3 separate regions of the Homo sapiens genome follow, and all the other regions are linked to region 3. The links are contacts of gene promoters, found by promoter capture Hi-C in blood cells and fetal thymus (Javierre and others, 2016). All regions are on one chromosome and are shown on one strand. The core of a region is centred on a gene start or on the middle of the fragment in contact, and the rest is flanking DNA. Distances in the headings are between cores, read along the strand shown.

Evidence for each region. The method cuts DNA at HindIII sites, captures the fragments that hold promoters and counts their contacts. A CHiCAGO score of 5 or more calls a contact.
Region 1: a contact is called between a fragment that was not itself captured here and the fragment with the promoter of PSMD6-AS1 in region 3, in 1 of 17 cell types (total CD8 T cells). The highest score is 5.2, in total CD8 T cells.
Region 2: a fragment that was not itself captured here is called in contact with the fragment with the promoter of PSMD6-AS1 in region 3 in 1 of 17 cell types (total CD8 T cells); the score reaches 5.4 in total CD8 T cells.

Annotation. Positions count from the first base shown.
Region 1 is chr3:66,297,481-66,300,872 of GRCh38, reverse strand. All of the region lies in intron 5 of SLC25A26 (solute carrier family 25 member 26), which reads right to left. Among named protein-coding and RNA genes, the nearest start is that of SLC25A26, 78 kb to the right of the region's middle. The HindIII fragment of the contact is 2,408 bases long and covers 798-3,205 here.
Region 2 is chr3:66,231,494-66,234,568 of GRCh38, reverse strand. The region is part of intron 1 of SLC25A26 (solute carrier family 25 member 26); the gene reads right to left. Among named protein-coding and RNA genes, the nearest start is that of SLC25A26, 12 kb to the right of the region's middle. The HindIII fragment of the contact is 3,472 bases long and covers 1-3,075 here.
Region 3 is chr3:64,010,013-64,013,444 of GRCh38, reverse strand. PSMD6-AS1 (PSMD6 antisense RNA 1) reads right to left here and starts at 1,481. Exons shown (of 2, transcript NR_189168.1): 1 at 1,403-1,481. PSMD6 (proteasome 26S subunit, non-ATPase 6) reads left to right here. Exons shown (of 8, transcript NM_014814.3): 6 at 1-6; 7 at 2,490-2,567; 8 at 2,681-2,894. The coding sequence ends at 2,777. PSMD6-AS2 (PSMD6 antisense RNA 2) reads right to left here. Exons shown (of 3, transcript NR_038286.1): 3 at 1,202-1,648. The HindIII fragment of the contact is 1,623 bases long and covers 755-2,377 here.

The DNA.
Region 1 (3,392 bases), core at 752-3,251, 2.3 Mb before region 3:
AAGCATAAATACAGATTAACAAGTGAATGCAACAAGATACTAAAATATAATACACGTGTTAGCAATCATTTTGAAGAAAGCACTAAAAATATCAGTACTAGTCCACCTCCCTTTAGTATATGCTACAGTCTAAAATATTTATATTTCCTTCTTTCTAGAAAATTATACTGCTCAAACTTTTTTTCATGAAGCAAAAAGGAAAAAGTCTCTCTCAAAATGCTATGCAAATATGCAGAAACCATGACATTATCCCTAGGAGGATGTATATAAATCCTTATTCTGTTATGGATCTTAAAAACAAAAAACGAGCATCAGCGACACCACCACCAAAGGACTCTTTAAGAAAGTACTTTTAAGATTTTAATTGTTCAAAATTGTTTAAGACAAATAGGAAAAGGTAATTTGAAATATATGCAAAGAACAAGAAATTTTACTTGTGGCTAATTCAATTATTTCCTTTGGAAAAGAATAAAGTTCAAATCATATTGCCAATGTCACTATAACTAAAATCTGACCATTACAAAAGGTCTCCCAAACTGCAGTCAATGGCCTGCTCACTTCAAGTAATATTGGTAATGGCTAAATTCCAGTATAACACCAAAAAAAAAAAAAAAAACAAAACAAAAAAACCCTAGCCTAGAAGTCCACTGGAGTTCACTGTAACGGGATTTAAGCTATAATTAAATTTGATTAGCTTGGTTCAAACCTCAAGTTCAAAAGACTTATCAGCATGAATGGATGAAAAACCCTTTTACACGGGCATTTTGAAAATATGAAAAGGGCTGACACAGCAAGCTTCAAAGACTTTAAAAGCAATTGACCCTTCCCAGAGCAAAGGAGAAACGCTAACAGCTGAAACTCAGATGCTGCGTGCAAAGAAAATAAAGTTCCAGATGGCTCAAAAGCCTGGTAGTTTATTAAATATTAAATACTATTATTTTTAACTGGATTTTTGCCCAGAGATAGCCAAATATGTCACCCATAAAATGTGAAAAAGCAGTATGATACCATCCCCTGAAAAACTGAAGCAAATAAATATTTTCTTTTTCAAAAACTACCCGCATGTGGAAGTTTCTCAAGGAGTTATACAAACAACCATGACAGTCAAACAATCAAGACGTTTAATAAAAAACAAAAACATCTATAACCTAAAAATCCAAATCAGTTTATTTCGAGACATTTAACTGTTACTCTATAAACACACACCTCATGCACACATACCCCCTTGGATCACATTATATTTTCATGCATGAAGAAAGGAGAAAAGTGAAAGAAGCAATAATAAATATGGACTACGGAACTGTGTTAGTGACTGGGGGTTAACATAGTTTTTACAAGTAGTTAAATATTAGTATGAAAGGATTATATATACAAAAGTTTGTTTGCCAAGCACATCGGCTCACACTTATAATCCCAGCATTTTCGGAGGCTGAGGTGAGCAGATCACTTGAGGCCAGGACTTCAAGACCAGCCTGGCCAACACAGCAAAACCCAGTCTCTACTAACACAAAAATTAGCCAGGCATGGTGGCACACATCTGTAGTCCCAGCTACTCGGGAGGCTGAGACATGAGAATCGCTTGGAACCCAGGAGGCGGAGGTTGCAGTGAGTCGAGACTGTGCCACTGCACTCCAGCCTGGGTGACAGAGGGAAACTTTGCCTCAAAAAAAAAGTTTGTTGTATGTATTCTTTTAAATACATACATGGAAATGGGTGCATATACACGCACATCAAATGAACTGTATACATACATATATAAACACACACACAGTAACAAATGTATACATAGGTACGTATTCATGTGTACACACACATACACACACACAAACCAAGGGTCCCTTTTCAACAAAATAAAGTTAGTTAACTAAGTTTACACACTGAGTTTTTAGATGGCACCTTCAAGTGAGTTTTTATGTTAAAATTTTTCCCTTGTTAGCATACTGTTTCTATGTAACTTGGGATCTGGGGGAGGGAAAAGACTGTTTTTCATGAAATAGAAACAACCTATGCCAAATGAAGCAGGTGTGAGATATCTCAAAGATGAAAGCAATTCTCCAAATAGCAACGTCATCCTGTAATGCTTTCTTGACATGTACAATTTTGCTATTCCTCTGACATTTATTACAAAGTACTGTGTTTGTGATCTTTCCTAACACAGATCAGTAGTGTGACTGGTGCTCATTTCTAGCAGCTTTTAGCACTGAGGAAAAAGTCAATTCAACACTGATGTCACTTAAAATGGGTAAGAAATCCAGCTACAGCAGAGGCTGCTGTGCCCCTTAAATGCTCTTTTCTTAAGACACTTTCTTCACAAGCAAATTAATTCTTAATGTAATTCTTTTATTCTGAAAACTGTTTATTACAAATCATCAGTTTTGAAATAATTCAAAGTGATCTCCCACCAAAAAAAGAAAACCCCACAAAGAAATAAATCATATTTACTTTTCTGTCCATTAAAAATATGCTGAAAGTGACACAGATGTACCTCTCAGAAATTTCTCATTATATTAAAACTTATCCACAATTTATGACAAGGAGTTTTACTAGAGAAAATATTAATTTCACCAGCTTAGTAATAATATCCAACATTTCATTTTCCTCCTGATATACCTATCAAATGGTTTTGGTATTTAAGCTCTTCTTTTTTTCAAAACAGAAGAAAATCTGTTAACTGAACTTTGTATCACCTAGTCCAGTGGTTCTCACACTTCAGAATGCATCAGAATCATGCAGAGGGTGTATAACACAAATTCTGGGCCTCACCCCAAGTTTCTGATTCAGAAGATCTCAAGTGGGGACTTAGATTCTGCATTTCTAGCAAGTTCCTAGGGAATGCAGCTGCTATTCGTGGAGGGACTGTACTTTGGGAACCAATGATCTACTCAGTATTTTCCTTCTTTTCATAATTTGCAAATTTGATAACGAGGAAATGATATGCTATATCCTTTAAAGACAGACATCTTTTGAGAACTTAGAATTAAAGAGAAATTGACAAAAAGGAAATCTAATCTAAGGCACAGCACAGCCCTCAAAGATGATCTAGTCTAGGATTCAGAAAACTTTTTCTGTAAAGAGTCAGATAATAAATAGCTTAGGCTTTATGGTCCATACAGTCTCTGTTACAACTACTCAACTCTGCCACTGTTGTGTGAAAGCAGACAGACAATACATAAATGAAAGAAAGTGGCTGCATGCCAATAAAGCTTTATTACAAAAACAGGCTGTGATCTGGATTAGGCCCACAGGTCATAGTTTACCAACTATTTTTTAAAAAAGGAAATCAATACCCAGAGAGATTAAACAACTTCAAAAGGCACAAGATAGCGAGTGGCAAAACTGCAACTAGACCTTCAGTGTCCTGATGTCTGATGTACTAAGGAAGCTACTGTTAT
Region 2 (3,075 bases), core at 328-2,827, 2.2 Mb before region 3:
ACATTACTATAAATAGTAATACTATACTTCATGATCAGCCCAAAGACATTAAAGAAGCCCAAAGACCCTGAAGTTCTAATCTGCAAATTACCTAAGAAGACGTCACCCAAAAGGGCACAGAGATGTGCCAGTAGAGAAACCAAGTAGTACCAAAAGAATATCCAATAACGTGGGATTTCTTTCTGGATATAAAGGTGGCCTTCCCTAAGTCATGGGAAAAAGTTCACAAGTAATGTAGGAAAGTAAAAAGGCCAATTGTCAAAACTCTTCTTAATTCTTGTTTCAGGATTTTTATAAAATTCAGTAAGTAGAGCCGGGCATGGTGGTATGTACCTGTAATCCCAGCTACCTGGGAGGCTGAGGCAGGAGGATCGCTTGAGCCCAGGAATTTGAGATTACAGTGAGCTATGATTATGCCCATGAATAGCCACCACGCTCCTGCCTGGGCAACACAGGGAGACTCATCTCTAATAATAATTTGGTAGGCAAATATTTTGCATGCCTCCTCGTTTTCTCAAAATACAGAGAGAATAGAACCCTGGCGAAAATGTCTCGTGCGACTAGATTATTTAAAAACATGCTGCACTTCACTCTAATTTTCTCTTTAATCTTAGGAGAGAATTCAGAGAAGTGCTATCTACTGCTAAATTTTAATCAATAATTACTCTTTCAATCTAGTTGGCTACCTTACATGTATTGATTCTCTAACCCTTCTTTCATCACAATTATTATCTTCTGAGGAAAAAAATGACCAGATTCAATTTACTTGTCTGGTAAAACATCACTCAAGGATTACTAAACGCTTCTATCGATTTCAAACTTCTATATAACTCAAATGTCATTTAAATTCATGCGACTGAAAAAAAAGAAAAACAGCTAACAGAGAACCTGAAGAATAAGAATACCTATATATTTATCCACACAACCACATATTTCAGATTTAAACAAAATCCTTAAGGAATGCCTATATCAATATTGTTTTGTATGTAATTATGTAAAAAATATATAAGCCAGTAACAACCTAATTATAAAGAACTCCATCAAACTCTTTTATTCTTTAGCCTGAAAATGTTATTTTGCTATAATCATCTATCAGAAAGTTATCAGGCAAGTGATTCATTTCATAATTTATGGTAGCTTATACCGAAAAGTTCTAACTAGAAAAAAATCCAAAGAAATAGGACATAACCCAGATAACCAGCAAACCTTGCTACAGCATCACAATGTATCGAGACCTCAATATCTTATAGATAAAATACATGTCTCTACCTTAAGTTAATAAACGTATGAAGTGTTGGCAGACTGTAGAGAGGAAGTGCCCAATTAGTGCTCTGCAATTACTCTGAGAAGTTATAGGTCAGAATTACATGCTATAAAACTTTTTTTCTCAAAAGGAGGAGGGCACACCATAAAAACAGCATTGCTGCTCCCCTCTAGGGCAAAACCAAACCATCTGTGTAATGTAACTAAGCAAAATTAATAGAGGCCACTGGCCTAAACGACAGCTAAGAAGAGCCAGCCATAACATTAACATGGCTTCTCAAGGGAAACATTCCCGACAGTCTCGGTTTCCTCCACCATGAAGTTGCCACCCATGACTTGAACCACCATCTTCCTCACTGCAGAACTGCCACCTCTGCTTTCTGACATACCTGTCGTCTTCCCCACTTCCCATTCATTCTCCCTGCAGTGCTCGCTGCCTCTCTGTACTAATCATTTTCATAAAATCCAAATTTCATCTTGCCACTCTCCAGCCTATAAATCTTCCAAACTTTCCAACAGCCCCGAGGATGAAGAAGAAAATCCTAGCACAGCCTTCCAGGCTCTGGAGGTTCTGGAGCCCCTCCAACTCCCAAAACTCGCACTATGTGCCCTTTGTTCAGTCCTTTCTTTCCACCTGGATCTTTTCCTCTAAATCATCTGATCTTCCTCATTTCAAGGAGTTTGTACAGATGCCCCCTAATCTCCAGTTCAGGTTTAGATCTTGTTGTTTCCAAGCACTGAACACAATTTTAATTACATAGTTTTGCCTCTGACCATTTGTTCAGTACCAGTCCAATTAAACCACAAGATCTATATCTGTTTTGTTTACTAATATGTTTCCAGCACCAGCACATATTAATAGGAGGCATTCAATGGCTCTAATAAAGGGTTACTATCTATATTTTAGAAGGCACTACAAATCAACCTTAAAAAGGTACACTGAATTTTTTTCAAAAATAGCAAAAGACAGGACCAGGCAATTCCCAAAAGAAAAATATAAATGACTAACAAAAATATGAAAATATGATTCTCTGTCATTATCAAATAAAAACAAAATGTTTTCCCAATTAGAAAAAAATTAAAAATATGAAGAATGGGTACAGGCACTGTTAACGAAAACATTACCATAATCTACTGGAGGACAATTTGGCAAAATGAACATTTTAAATTATCAAACCTTTGATCCAGTTATTACTAAGCATTTCTTCCACAGAAATAAATGCACAAATATACAAGAATGTCTACTACAGCATTTCTGTAATAATAAAAAATTGAAAACAACCTAAAAGTCCATCCACTGGGGCCCTGTTAAGTAAATTAAGCTATACACAAATAATGAATTGCTACATAGCCTTTAAAACAACAAGGTAGGCTGGGTGCAGTGGCTCATGTCTGTAGTCCTAGCTGCTGGGAGGCTGAGGTGGGATGCTCACTTGGGCCCAGGAGTTTGAGGTTGCAGTAAGCTATGATCACGCCACTGCCCTGCACTCTAGCTTGGGCAACAGAGCAAGATCCTGTCTCTAATCAAAAAAAAAAAAAAAATGAGGTAAACCCATACTTATTGGCACAGAAACATACACTATATTCTTAAATTAATCAAATTAGCTATAAAACAATATATGCTATATAATCCCATCTTTTAAAATGTGTAACTATTTGTATATGCATAATTAGAAGTCTGGAACATAAACAGTAAATTGCTAGAAATTATTGCCTCTGTGGAAAGAGATTCAGGATGAGAAATACTACTGTTAATAATATTTCTTGTTAATTTTTTAACAATTAATTTTTAAATAATTTTTAACAATTTTA
Region 3 (3,432 bases), core at 232-2,731:
TGATCAGTAAGTTTGAATAATGCCATGTTAATTGAAGTTTTAAAGTTGCCTTTTAAAATATGTGAACTTGTACAATTTTTTACTTGTTTACATTGGTTCCCTCAATCTTAACGGGGAGGGGAGAGGTTTTTTTCCTCAGTATTATCAAAACATTCGTATCCTGTTGCCTCTGCCTTCCTCATGTCATGTCTGCCCCTTGCATTAACAGATGGGAAGATGAGTTGTAGTGAGGCTAAGTGATTTGTTAAAGGTCATTAGACCAGTTGTTATCAAAAGTTGTCTTCTGTTACTTCTTTGTAGACCACACTGCAGCTACGGTAATGACTCTTAGATCTGATATTTACAGTTGGTCATATTCCCTCTGATAATTCCTTCCAGTTTTTAGGTTGCTGCTGCAATTCTGGTCAGATTGGTTGTTAAATGTGGGACTTTTAGTACTTGCATCAGTGATTAAACAAATAAATACTTAATGAGCCATTCATTACTATATGTTTGGTATTGTTTTACAGCTCCCTTTTCACACTTTCATTGTAGTAGTAGGGAAGAGATGGCAAGGAAGCAAATAAATATAAAACGTAATTTCACATATAGAAATGAACCTATGGAGATGAGAAAATGCTATCCTTACGTACGGCATGCTTAAGGAGGTGAGGTTTGCTCTGAGATTTGAATTGAGAGGAGTCAGCCATATGGAGTCCTTCTGCGTGCAGAAAAGGGAATAGAAAAGGCTAAGGCTTTGAGCCAGGAATAAGCTTGGATGTTGTAGGAACAGAAAATGTCAGGGTGGCTCCAGCATAGTTGGAGTGGTAGGAGATTTTGAGGATAATATATGGAGAGTTAGGTAGGTAATGATTTGTGTAGGGCCTTGTAGGTCATGGGATGGAGCTTGAGTTTTAAGTAAGTTTGATAGGGAGCCATTGGAAGATTTAGAGCCCAAGTTACATGGTCCTATGCAGTGTCTTTATATAAGAAATAGAGTAAGGTGGCAGAGAGGACCAGTTGTGCTGTTTAGTAGCTCTTAGAGGAGATGTTACCGTGGCGTGGACGAGGGTGGTGAGAGTAGAGTTGGGTAGGAGACATACTCAATATGGGATGTCCAGATGGCATCTAGATCAGTGGCTCCCACATGTAGGTGTTTTTAAATGTTGATGATGGTGTTTTCAATGGTCTGCAGTGGAAACTTTAAATGAAGATGCATTTCTTTTAAATAAGACCATTCTCTTTCTAGTATTTTTTAAATTTCGAACATCCATAAAATTGTAAAGAAAGAATTGTACAGTACATTTTAACATATTTGCTTGTTACAATCTATACATTTTATGTTTTTTAACCACTTCAAAGTAAGTTTCAGACACCAACACATTTTTTAAATGATCCCTACCATTTTTTAAATGATCCCTACCAAAATGGAAGGCTGGTATCCCAAGGTTTTGTTCCATTTCTCAATTCTAGTCTGTGAAATTGAAGTCTGATGACCACTCTTAAGAGGGCTGTTCATTAGGGTGCGGGCTGGGCATTATGAGTGTGTTTTTCATGAGTCAGTGGAAGGAGGGGCTTGTTGTGAGCAGTGCATGAGAAAAACGGCTTGGCTTTGCTTCTTTTTCCAGCTCTGTGGCCTTGGTCAGGTTACGTCTCTTCAGTATCGTAACTGTAATGTGGAGATAAAGCCTTCATTAGTTAGGGGCACACACCGCAGTATTCCTTAAGTCATCTTGATGACAAGTGAATGCAAGGCAGCTGGTACCTTTCAGGTAGTAGTTGAATTCAGGTAGTATTTGTTCAGTTTTTTTTTTTTCCCTTCATGTTCTAAGACCAGCTTGAGAGGCAAAGGTTGTACCACTGAGCTCTAGTTGTTGTTACCTAAAAAGGCCTTGTTTTAAATTTCTGTGATACCTAAGAATTTCAAATCTGGGTTGTCATGGATTCTTTATTCTTTTTTTCTCCCTTAAAAAGTTACATTTTAGATGAAATCCCCTTTTTTAAAATGGGCAAAGCAATAATTCTACATCATTTCTCCCCTTCCCTTCCACTTGTTTAGACTAAGATATGTTAGAGAGGGAAAGGGTCGTTGTTTTAGTAAATACTATTGCTGTTGACATGTTAATACTATTGCTGTTGACATGTTTACTGATGGGCTGTGTTCCATAATTTTGTTTTAGGTCTTTTGTTTGAAACAGTTTACTGTTTTTATCAGTTTTGGTCCCTAATTTTTCCTAACCTACAGTTTTTCTCTGAGTACATATGGTTTCATTGTTTGATCTACTTTCTATCTATCTGAATATGAACTTCTAGGATCATGTTTATTCTAGTAGATGATGACTTAAAGCCTGCAGTATAGGAGGGACAACGTCAACTACTGCATGTGCAATAACAAGCTTGAAGGGAAGCTAAATGTTTGTTACAAATTTAAGACAGTATTTTAATGCCGTTTGCATTTTTCTAAGAATTTTCTATAAAGCTAATTCTGTTATTTTTTGTCTCTAAATTAGGGAACTGTCCAGGTTTATTGCTGCCGGGAGACTACACTGCAAAATAGATAAAGTGAATGAAATAGTAGAAACCAACAGGTACTCTCATTTCTCAGAATAAGGGGCATTCCTAAATTTTAAAAGTAGGTCAACTATTGTCATGGAATAATGTGACTGGTAAATAATTCATTTTTTCTTGAATTTATTTATAGACCTGATAGCAAGAACTGGCAGTACCAAGAAACTATCAAGAAAGGAGATCTGCTACTAAACAGAGTTCAAAAACTTTCCAGAGTAATTAATATGTAAAGCCATGTAACTAACAAAGGATTTGCTTTAGAGATAATTATTTGGAATTTTTATAGCTTACTTCACAATGTGCCCAGGTCAGCTGTATAAAATAAATACTGCATTGTTGTTTCTTTCCATTTATTTTTTTCTTAAACACATAGGCCTTCTAGAATCGGGTCCACTTATGTTAAAATAATGTCACTTGAATTATTCATTAATGAAAATCTGGTTTATAGGGTAAGGTTGCAGCTGGGTTCAGCTAGGTTCAGCTCCTGACTGCCTCATCAGTAAAATACGTCAGTAAAATACGGATGTTGACACAGCCCATTATCGCTTACCTTTAAATCTCTTACCTGTAAGCTTCCCGATTTTAGAAAGAAGAGTAGTGGCCTAAAATTAAACAAACAGTGTCTCCCACTTTTAGTATACAAAAGATAGAAGATAAAGAAAATGTGTAATAAGCTTTCCCTCAGAAACAAGTAACCATATAAGGCAGGAAGTTACTCTTTTTTAGGAAGCTGACATAACCTGGATTACAGAATCTACCAAGGCTGATCTCAGTTTTCTAAAACCTTATATGTAAGTATTTATTAGCAAACTGAATCTTTTTTCCAAAAGTAGGACCATAGTAATAATAGCAGTGAGGAAAACAAAGTTGTTCCTCTGTTTGTTT